2 separate regions of the Homo sapiens genome follow, and region 2 is linked to region 1. The links are contacts of gene promoters, found by promoter capture Hi-C in blood cells and fetal thymus (Javierre and others, 2016). All regions are on one chromosome and are shown on one strand. Each heading gives the region's core, a stretch centred on a gene start or on the middle of the fragment in contact. The rest is flanking DNA. Distances are from core to core; before and after follow the strand shown. Region 1 holds the start of RNPC3 (RNA binding region (RNP1, RRM) containing 3). Region 2 holds the start of LMO4 (LIM domain only 4).

Evidence for each region. Contacts are between HindIII fragments. The CHiCAGO score rates a contact against its expected background, and 5 or more counts as called.
Region 2: a contact is called between the fragment with the promoter of LMO4 here and the fragment with the promoter of RNPC3 in region 1, in 1 of 17 cell types (total CD4 T cells). The highest score is 12.0, in total CD4 T cells.

Annotation. Positions count from the first base shown.
Region 1 is chr1:103,523,593-103,529,165 of GRCh38, reverse strand. It overlaps RNPC3 (RNA binding region (RNP1, RRM) containing 3), which reads right to left and starts at 3,467. Exons shown (of 15, transcript NM_017619.4): 1 at 2,904-3,467; 2 at 1,424-1,471. The coding sequence starts at 3,095. RNPC3-DT (RNPC3 divergent transcript) reads left to right here and starts at 3,658. Exons shown (of 4, transcript NR_168321.1): 1 at 3,658-3,770. It also overlaps the pseudogene RN7SKP285. RefSeq lists an enhancer at 3,016-3,255 and a silencer at 3,576-3,675. The HindIII fragment of the contact is 7,657 bases long and covers 1-5,573 here.
Region 2 is chr1:87,326,004-87,331,733 of GRCh38, reverse strand. LMO4 (LIM domain only 4) reads right to left here and starts at 2,854. Exons shown (of 5, transcript NM_006769.4): 1 at 2,490-2,854. RefSeq lists enhancers at 1-371, 372-1,010, 680-2,225, 1,791-2,366, 2,367-2,944 and silencers at 64-423, 1,790-1,879, 2,803-3,232, 3,483-3,652, 5,622-5,671. The HindIII fragment of the contact is 2,085 bases long and covers 1,737-3,821 here.

The DNA of each region.
Region 1 (5,573 bases), core at 2,218-4,717:
TAGTTCTGCCATATTTTTTCTGTGTATATGCTAACATGTATACTATTAGTTTCAAAAAATCTGAGGTTACATCATATATAATGTTTCACAACTTTATTCATGTACTCTATCTGGGCTATCATTCCATATTAACACATACCATTTGACATCATTCTCAGACAGTTGCAGTCCAGTATATGGATATAATGTGATTTAAGGCTTCCCTTCCTTTTACCGATGAGAATTTGGGTCATTTCTATTGTTTCATGGCAAAAAGACTTTAATAGATGTGTTCATTCCTCATTTTGCATCATCACAGGATTTCATCTTCTTAAAACACACTTCTCTTTGCATCAGTGATAATTTCCTTTCTAGTTCTCCTACTTTAACTGCTCCTTCCCATTCTTCTCTCCTAGCTTATTATCCTTTGGGCAAACATATCTATTCACATGGTTGAAGAATCTTTCCATTCTTCACCTTGCCTCAGCTCTCATTAATATTTTTAAATATTTCCATAAAAGTAGCCCAATGACCCCTCCAAGTTAACAGATGACAAGTGAATTCATCCTATGCCTTTGCAAACATCCTCTGGATCCTCATGTCAGCTAATATAACAACCCAAATAACTCAATCCTCAATCTAAATATCCTGAACTATTCTCTCTCAACCCCTATATTATAAAACCTACAAACTCAATCTCTATTGAATATATATTTACTTCCCCCTTTGTCTTCTTACTGTCTTCTTCAGATAGTTATTCTTGCCTTGGCCATTATAACAGCCTTCCATTTGGTCTCCTACCTCTAATAATTCTGCACATCCAATCCATGATATGAACTATACCAGATATCTTTAACAGGCCTGATCATATTATGAGCCAGCTCAAAAGTATCAAGTGTCCACCTACTAAACCAAACTCAATACCTCTCTCCCAGACTCAAATCTATTTTTCAAGTTCCATTTCCATCTCAACCCTTAGCTCCTGCTCCACTTATAACTTCCAATGTCTCACAGCTTTATTTGGTGTTCTGCAAGCCCAGAAGGCCCATCTCCACTTGTTTCCTTCTGAAAAAATCCAATTAATCATTAGACTTCTAGCTAAAAGATCACCTCCTGTGAATGATTCCCTGGCATTATAAAGAAATGTATATTCTCCTTTTAACACTTGAAACATCTTACCTTGTAACAGTCACAGAGATATTTATCAATCTAAATCATTTAGAAATTGTTATTTTAATTACATACGCAGTTAGTTTTTCTTTATAGATAATCTACTAAAGGACTGGGCAAGATCTGCCAACTGACAAATCAAATGTAGTCTGTTGGGGAAACTGTTGGAATACAAACGCTTTTGCTTCTTAAAAACCACAGTTAAACATTATCTGAACCAAGATTGTATAAGAGGATCCTGTTGACAACTTTAATCGTCAAGAAAAAGTCATACCTTTATAGCTGCTTTTTCATTAGGGAATGTGGCAAAAGCTGTATGTTTCTGAAACAGAGTTAAGGTACAAATTACTTCCAATATAATTTCAGTTTCTCACAAAGAAATCTGACTTTTTACCAGTGGAGTAATGTGACATGTTAATAAAATCACGGGAAAGGATGAAAACTCAAGACCATTTAACTGATTACTAATTTCAGTCCAGTGGTTTTCAATACTTTTTGAGTCAGACTTGAGATGAAAGCTATGCAACCTCTATCATATAAAGACACACGTTTTACACATGCAAATAGTTCAAAAGACCAAAAGTTTAAAGACCTGTTCTACACAGAGGGTCACTTTTAACCAACTAAAAATTTATTTCCTTCATTTATGACAGATCTAAAGATTTTAAACTTTCCTCTATACATAACAATGCGTAGTTTAAAAACATTCACCAACAGAGAAATCGTTCTTCAAGGTGCATATTTCCTTTGTGCTTTATCTTTGTAATAATGTTCAATGGGAGAAGTCTATTTTTAAACATAAATTATACGGATTTTAAAAACCATCAGAAAAGAAACACAAATCAACAGTAAAAGAATCACTATGCTAAGGAAGAGCTCTGGTCAATGCTTATTAAAAGTTACTTTAATAATTATATCGCACATTCTAATTTTGTCTAATCTGATACACGATGACCTGATGTACTTAAATTGAGCCATATATAATTTTTTTTTTTTAATTTGCAGGCATAAGTGACATTTAAACTGATCAAAATTGGTCTTTCTTCTAATTCAGTAACTCTCAACTTGGGCTGCACATTAACATTAAAATCACCTAGGGAAACTTTAAAACCACTGAGTCTTGCACCATCGCTATTCCTATTTTAATGAAGAGAAATCTAAAATATCTTTGGATATAAAGCAAAACAAAGTAATTGTGTAAATTCCTACACAGGTACTCTTAACAGCCCTAAAAAATTGTTCCCTAAAAGATGTCATCGGGAAATTTTTATGAAAAGCCTCTTTTTCTAGTTGAAATTCTGCATTTAATTTACGCAAGTCACCAATGTAGCTTCTCCTCTATTTTAATGAACGATTTAACATTGGCTTATAAATGAAGTAGGACTTTAAAAAATCCCTTGATGCACATTTGTAAGAATACTCTTGAGTCCAGGAGAAATAACCCCAAATTCAAAAAAGTTGTGAGGCTCTCAGGATGGATCCGAAAACTCAATATAACTAAGCTAATTTCCATTCTTCTGCTTTGTCGTTCTCACTTGCCCTTTTCTGCAGTGCTATGACTAATCCAGACTCGAGCCGATTAAAACTCCACTTCGCAGAGCAGATATTTTGATAAAAAAGAGGTAGGATGGGGGAGCTCTCATCACACAAGTCCATCTTCCCCACTCGTTTCCATTTTACTCTTGTCAGCGCTCCCCCTCCCCGGTCACTTCCCAAATGCCTTCCCGGGAGACTCCGGAGGGGCGCGCCCTTACCAGTCGCCCCTTATCTGACAGGACCCGCACAGACTGAGCCCCGAAGTACTTCAGCAAGTCCTCTTTCTCCTCAGCAGTAAGCTCAGCCGGCAGGTGCCTGACCAGAAGGGTTCGGTCGCCCCGAGGCGGGGAAAGCGAGGAGGAGCTCGTGCATCCCCTTGATATCGCAAGCGGCTGCTCGGGAGCTGCCATTTTCCTTGGAGAAGCAAAAACAGAAATCGTGGGAAGAAGTCTCAGTCAAAATCGCGGCATCAACACAAGCTGGGAGAAATATTTTTTCCGCCTCGCGCTAAGGATTCTGGAAACCAGGAAATACCGAGAAAGAAAGTCACCTTCTCGCGAGAACTGCGCCACCGAAAAGCGGCAACCCTTCGAAGACTCTTCGGGGAAGGGCGCGGTGCTAATGATTTAAATTCCAGGGGTCTCCGGAAAGACTTACAAGCAAAAATTGGCCCAGAGATGTGCGAGGGTTAACACAAGTTGTCAATCAAAGAAGGAAACAGGAACCCCAGCCACTTCAGGGAAAGAAGGTTGACGCTCAAGGACAAGAGGACTCACGACTGCGCATGTGCGGGCTGGGACCGTCACAGGGCGGGGCGGGGCGCACGGCGGGGCGGGGCGCACGGCGGGGCGGGGCGCACGGCGGGGCGGGGCGCACGGCGGGGCGGGGCGCACGGCGGGGCGGGGCGCACGGCGGGGCGGGGCGCACGGCGGGGCGGGGCGCACGGCGGGGCGGGGCGCACGGCGGGGCGGGGCGCACGGCGGCGAGCGCTATCTGGAGCTGACCGTGCGGCTCTTAATCCCTGGCCTTGGGAAAGTGAATTGGCCTGAATAGCAAGGAGGAGAACTTGGGTGTGGAAATACCGGGTATGTTCTTACAGTATTTAGATGGTAAAATATAAAGCTAGCCAGTTATTCTGTCAACTCATTAGACACCATTGTAGGGAGGAGAACTCAGTTTAAGGGGCAAAACGTTGAGAGTTCAGACTTTTTTCTTGAATCAGTAGGCATTTAGCAGACGGATAGGCCCCTGCCAGGGTTCATTTCGCAGAAATGGCAGCCTCTAGGGAGAGGTAACCTAATAAATAAATTATTGCATGTGTGTGTATGTGTGTGTGTGTAGGGGTGTGTGTGTGTGTGTGTGTGTATGTGTGTGTGTGTGTAGGTGTAGGTACTTTTCTCCCTATTTTACAGCTGAGGACACTGATGTACAAAGAGGTTAAATCACACAGCTAGAAAGTGGAAGAACTAAGTTTTGACCCTTGGTGTTCTGACTGGGGGTCTACATTCTAATCCACTGTTCTGCCTAGATTCTGAATGGAGTGAGGCAGGGATCATCCCCGGAGGGTCAGGAATGTACCCCTCACCCCATACAGAGAGGGCCTTGAGGATTCTAAAGAGAGGTTTTATGCTAGATGTAGCTGCTACAGTCTGGAGAACCAGAGTTCCTCTTACAGTTCTTTTTGCCACTTAAATAAATGTTAGAGATACAGCAGTAAGCAGTATACCAGCAATCTGCTGTCATCCCGCATTGGTTGGGGAAAAGGAGAGAGACAGATATTAATGAAAACTAGAAGACAAACATGAGAAGAACCTTCCCCACACACCCACCAAAATATCAGATAGGTAGAGCCAGACCACGTAGACGCTGTAGATTTGTTAGGAGCCCTTTTTATTTGAGGAACATTTAGAAACTGACAAATTCTTTAAGTAGGTGTGTGTTGAGGGGAGAGAATCAAAGTTTAGGTATGAAAATTTCTCCGGTTGCAATGCAAAAAACAGAAGCAGAAAGACCAGTTGGACTACTGTAGAAGTCTGGAGAAAAACACTACCATAATAGTTTGGTGAAAGTGGACATGTAGAGAAGGAACTGGAATTGAGATACGTTTTAGAAGTAGTTGATAGGAACTTGCAGATGAAGAATAGTAAGCAAGGATAAATTCTGGATTTTTGGCTTAAGCTAGATATTATCCATCTGTAGATGATGATGCCATTTACTGAATGTGAGAAGATTGACCAAGTATAGCTAGGTTAGAAACTGTAGTGGGACATTGGGAATAGAGGAACATATATTAAGTTTAAGGTATCTATTCAGTATCCCTGTTTCAAGTAGGAAGTTGAATGTGTGTGTTTGGCATTCTTGGGAAAGGTTACCACGAGGTATGGCATCAACCTATATGGTATTTATATCTGAAGAATGACAAAGGGTATAGATAGAATTGTGCCCATAATGGAGTCATGGGACATGCAGATGTTGAGAAGTTGAGGCAAGGAAGAAGAAGAAGACAATCAATTCCTGCCCTCTCAATGCTTACTTTCTAAAATCAAGACAGAATAAATATGTAAATAAAGTTCTTTTCAGAGAATAATAAGTGCTTTGGAAAAAATAGGGTAGTGTTATAAACCGATTGGAGTGGTCATGCTATTTTAAACACTATCCTTCAGCGGCTTTTTTGTGTGTGTTCTTTGAAGACTTGTTTGGAGCTTCTAGCAAGGGAGCACTGCTACACGTATGCCCTTACAGAAAAATCATCCTCCTTTATGGGGGTAAGTCATCCTCCTCAGCCGAGTGGGCAGCTTTGGAAGAGACATATATGGGGCAGTTAGGAAGGAAGGGGAACCCAGCTAGTTAGCCAGATCAGCCAAATCAACTGTTGGGATCAGTTGGTG
Region 2 (5,730 bases), core at 1,605-4,104, about 16 Mb after region 1:
CTGTCAAAACTCCGAGAGCAGGCTCCGCTGCGCGCTCCACCCCTCGCGGCACCTCCTCCCAGCCCCCGCCTCCGCCCACTGCCCCCTCCTCCCCTCCTCCGCCGCCCGCCTCCAGCAAATGAGGGTCAAACCCACCCACCGCCGCGCCCGGCCCCTCCCCAGCCCCCGCCGGGCCCCGGGACAGAGCCGAGAGGAGTGGGGAGGCGGCGGCCCCGCCGGAGCCTCGTTCCCTCCCGGGTTCTGCCCCGGGAAGTGCAGCTGCAGTTCACAAGTTGGAAATAGTTCGGTTTTCCGAAAGGGAACGAGGGAGGGACCGGCAGACGGGAGACGGAGAGCGTGGTGATGGGAGGGAAGGCAAGGTGACGGGAGGGGTGGGTGCAGTGTGTAAAGTTGCGAAACTGGTTTTTCGTATTTTAAGCAGCACCTTTCACATGCCATTGTGGTGACCGCCATCTCCCATTATTGTTCCAAATCTCATTTCATTTTGAAGATCAATGAGTGTTTTCTCTGGGTTTTCAGGACACAGGCAAGAATAATAGATCATTGAACTTTAGGATGCCTGTTAACTTCCTATACAAACACTCTCCACTTTGGTCTCACTAATCTGCCCTTGATCAGCAATTTAAATGCTAAAGCTTTGTTCCTCCAAAGGGCGGGGGGGGGGGGGGGGCGGGCGGCGTTACAGATAATGTGCGAGAAGGCACCATTAAGGGATGCACAAGTTAAATTCGAGCCCGTCCTGCTGTCACCAAAAACTGCTTTAAAAAAGAATTCCCCACTCTAATGAATGCCACAAGAGATGCAACTGGGATATAATATAGGAATCAATTTATAAAGCTTAGCCTAAACCGATTAATTTGTTGCCTTCAATCCCGAGTCCAATAAAGTCCTAGTGTTCCTCTAGTCACTTATTCTGTAAAAAGATCAAGTTATTTACTGCCAATTAAGCAGCCTGTATTGTCTTTGTCCTCTGTAAGCTGAGAGTGTGGGCTCCCCCTGAGGCTCCCGGCTATCTGCTCAAGACATTCAGCTGATACCTCAGAAGAAGGCGAACTTTGCCTGTACCCGGCCCAACTTGGCTGCTGCAAAAAAAACGAGGAAGGAACGAAACAAGGACTCGGGTTCCTTAAATAGGCCGATTTTAAACACATTTCCTCCGAAAGAGTCCCGGAACGTGTGTCCAGTGACCGCACAATAAACCAGAATAAGAACTGCACCAATTAAGCTGTAACAAAACCCTGAGACTTTGGAAACAGGACCACTCTAAAACCCATTAGCATTGCATTTATCCGAATGCATCATACCTTTATGTAAATTGATTTATCTGATGCATTTACTCGAGGAATTGCTTTTTGTTACAATTTCAGCCCTAACCCAAATGAATCTGCATTTCCTGCCCTAGATCTTTAAACTGTTTCCCCCAACGTTTTAATCGCTCCGAATTCCTTTTTAAAAGGAGAGTGAGGGAGGAGATTCCAAGCTCTTCCCCGCCCCCATCTTTAGTGAGAGGTAAATATATATGTATTTTTTTTTTGAAAAGGAAACATTACACTGAGAAAAGCATCCAGTAACCCCATTAGCTAAAGCTCTTAAGGACAAGCAATACCTTAATGCTGATTAAATCTAAAAGAGATGAATCAAGAAGACTGACCAGAAACTGACTCCCCTGATAACTAAGGACGGGCCCTCATCAAGTTTCATTTAGAGTTGGAAAAAAAAAAAAAAAAAAGAAAGCTTTTAAGTTAAATAGGCTTATACTCTAGTAATTACATAGCCAAGCAATTTAGGTCCTGGGATAGTCAGTGAAATAGAAAGCAGAACTGGCAGCTAGAGGCAAAATCTGCCCCCCTTTAACAACGTCTCTGGTGTTTTTTAATGGAGACCAAGGGAGGGACAAACGTAACGCTGGCAATTTGTAGTACAAAAATGGATGCTTAATTCATGTCTTGATTTTAATTAGGTGATTCACCGTATTTCTCCTGGATTGGAACAAAAGACTTATAAGCCAAGAAGAATTTTTTTAAAAGAACCAGCAATACCGAATCCTGCTCACTTAGATCCTTCCTGCCACTGTTTCAAAAATAGTGTTTACTAGAAGGGAGGGGGGGTATCGTGACTATCCCCACCCCCACCCCCCCAAACACACTACTTCTCATACTTAAAATCCTCATCTAAGCACCCCTTGCCTTTCCCTTATGAACTAGAAATATCCCCACCCCCTCTACGGTCCCCACCAGCCCCGTTTCCAAGAAGAGCCCTTTTGTAAGCAGGAACCGCTACAAAGCTGGCGGCCCGGGGCTGCCCTCCGCGCTAGCTCGCAGGCCGGCCTCGGTAGTTTCAGACTCGCGCTTTATCTAAGCCGACGTATTGTTTACTTGCAATTTGGGACGGTCAGGGGAAGGAAGCCAAAGAAAACAGCCCTGGCCCGAATCGACCCCCTCCCTCCCTCTCCCACCTCCCGGCCCGCGGCTCTCCACCCGCCCCCTTACCTGCTTTTCCCCTATATTGCAATATTGCGAGAGGCGGCGGCGGTGAAATGCGAGCGAAGCCGCTCGGCTTCCAGGGAAGGGGCGCCTGGGCTGGCGGAGCTGGAGGGAGGGAGGGAGTTCTCGCAGAAGCAGGAAAGGGGAGGAGGGGGCTAAGGGCGGCTTTTTTTTTTTTTTTAAATCGCGTTGCTCTGGGGCGGGTTGGGGGGCCCCCGCGTAAGTGCCGGGCGGCCGGGAGCAGAAGTGTCAGTCTCAGTCTTCGTCCTTCTCCGCCTCCGACTGCGCGCGAGCAGCTGCAGGAGCCCTCGGCCCGCGCGGCGCGGCTTCAGGCGCGGCGCAGCGGCAGCAACTGCTGCAATCGCTGCTGCAAGTTTGGCAATGTGGCTTCACTTTGTATATTCCCCCGCCCGGGGGCCCCCGCCCCCGCCCGCGCTCCTCCCGCTCCTCCTCCTCCTCCGCCGCCGCCTTCCTCCCTCCCGCGCGCTCGCTCGCTTGCTCGCTCCGGGATGGCAGCGGCGGCTCGGCTGAGCTCCCTGCACCTCCGGCCGGGAGCAGTCGCAGACACAACAGCCCCGGGAGCGGCGGCGGACGGTGCGGAGGCCGGCAGGCAGGCGCACCCAGGCGTCGGGGGCTGCGGCCGGCCGGGCCCGGCGCGCTGGAGCCTGCGCCGCTGCCGGGGCTGTTGCTGCCCGGCTCGGAGGCGGCGGCGGCGGCGGCGCTGGCCTCTAGCCGGCTCGCTCGCTCCCTCCGCGGCTCTTACACATGTGTTACTGACAGAGCAAAATCCCAACTACTCCCCGGCTCTGCCTCCGACGTCAGCGACCCTCAGCCACTGGGCGGCCGGATTGTTCAGGCGGAATAATAAAACCTGCCAATCCGGGGAAGGACAAAGGGATGACTGAAACGAGACTCGGGGGGCGGGAGAGAGAGCGAGGCGGCAGAGCTGGCCGACAGAGGAGAAGGGAAGGGCCCGAATCAGGTGGGGTGAAGTGACCCGGGCGCCTGGGGCCGGGGACCCGCTTGGGCTGCCCTTCGCGACCCGGGATCCGGAGTCGAGACGCAGGGCGGGGCCTCACCTGCCTTCTCAGCGCACGGGGACCCTGAGGACCCGCGCCCGCTCGCCCCTCGGGGACTGCCATCCCCTCTATCTGAGAGGAGACCCTTAGGAAACTTACCATCTTTCTCAGAAATGGGTCTCTTCCTGTTTGGGAAGATAAGTCCTGCATCTTAGGGCAGTGGACTTCTATCCCCTCACGCACAAGCACACAGAAGAGGATTTTTGTTGTTGTTTCTTTAATTCACGATATTGGAGATTTATGAACCGTAGTGGAAGCTTAGTTAACAAGGTAGAAACATAAAGGAAATAATAGTTGCTAGCTAAATACTGCCTACTTAGCCTCCCTCATACTCCCATTTTTCCGAGTTTGAAAGTGCCTAGCAGGCATTTCCTGGATCCTTGTCAATTGCTGGTGATGTAGGGAGCACAGTCCTTATTTTCAAAGTTGACGAAAACTTAAGGGAGAAAGCCTTTCCCGACTACCCTCCTCACTGTGGAGGATGAGAGGCGGAAATTCTCACAGCCCCCAAAAGCAATGGAAGTAATTGCAAGATTTGCAATCTCACAGCCTCTAGAGAGTAAGAAATGTCACTTCTAGTATAAATCAAGTTTTGAGGAATGCTTTTAGGGTGCTAGCCTGAGAGTCTTTTTCCAAGGCCGAAGCACAGCCTAGATGCTTGAATACCTAGGCATTCGACTTTATCTACTCTGCCAAATAGGTTAAATAAATCTCCAGACTGAGGCTAATATTAGGCCTGATTATTGTTAGTAAGTTCCAGAGAGATTTTTCTGGTGGAAATTATCATGAAAGTGCAAAGCCCTTCTGCTAAGTATCATTAAGTAAAACCAGCCTTGTGGGGCAAGTTTTCATATTGTGTTACACACAGTACTGCTAGATTGAGGAAAGGAACCTGAAGGAGAATCTGGCGAGACAATGCAGATGTTGAACATTTAGGGTTTTAGTGTCTATTTGGGGGATTTCTGTCTTTCAAACCATCAAAATTAATAAGGCTGCATAAGAAAGAATAATTATTGCCCATACAGTCAGGTAGAGGGCATTTTAAATATCAATTCAAATACTCATTTTTTAATTCTAGCACCTTAAAATTAAATGAATTAATTTTATTGATTTGTATTTAAAGTTGCACTGCTATGATGAATTCACCTTGTGCACATATAAAAAACTTTTTTTAAAAAAAAGTCATTAAAACTATAATAGTAATTAAAATGTCCTACACAGAAAACAGCTACAGATGGGCATGATTAAAGAGGACCAACTTAGAAAAGATGTAATGCTGCTTGAAGGTTAGTCAAGAAAACTCAATTAAACCAGATGAGGAGAGGAACACCATAAACAAATAATACATTTGAATCCCCTGGTTCATTTTCACTTTTTAAATAATTTATAATAAAAGGAGATGACACAAGATCTTAGTGGGCTACAATTAAGTTATGATTTGTCATGTGCAAGTAAATTTCCGTCTCTGGGCCTTAATTTTCTCATCCACAAATGAGAGAATTAAGCCAAATGGTCTTTATTTTTTCTTTTTAAAAATGATTTTCTTAGATAGAGCACATAATGCATAGATGTATAACGAATTGTGGTACTTTTCAGGATTTTTCCTGAAGAATATGCACTAAAACGAAATCTTAATTCCTGAAGGAAATGTTAGAAATTTAACCAGACACATGTTCAGCTATCATTGAGTGATTATCCAGAGGATCCCGGTGGTGTTTGTGGAAGGAAGGAGAGTGAGATGGATAAAACTTTGAATAACAGAGCTCTAGGCTACAGGGCCTACATTTTAGGAGGTGGTTTTAGTGCTTCAGCTCTAATTCTGTGCGGAGTGAGGTCTTTAAACATGTCCTGGTAGATTGGAGTGGATGGGAGTGTATTACCAGAGAGCTTTATTTGCTGATGTGTGTTTATAGAAATACAAAAGCGATAATGGCTAACAGTCTCTCTTCTGAGAGGTAGGGAGTAAATACATTCACTGTAATCAAAATTCAGGTGTACTTTTACCACAGCGCCACCTCTGGGTAATCTTTATTTCTGCATTCTTTGCGTTTAGCAGTCCTTTCTCATCCTGATTTGTGGTCTGAAAATGCCTGGTTGAGTGGGTAGCAACGTCAATCTTTTATTTCCACTGATGCGAAACACAAAAACCTTGTAAACACACACAAATT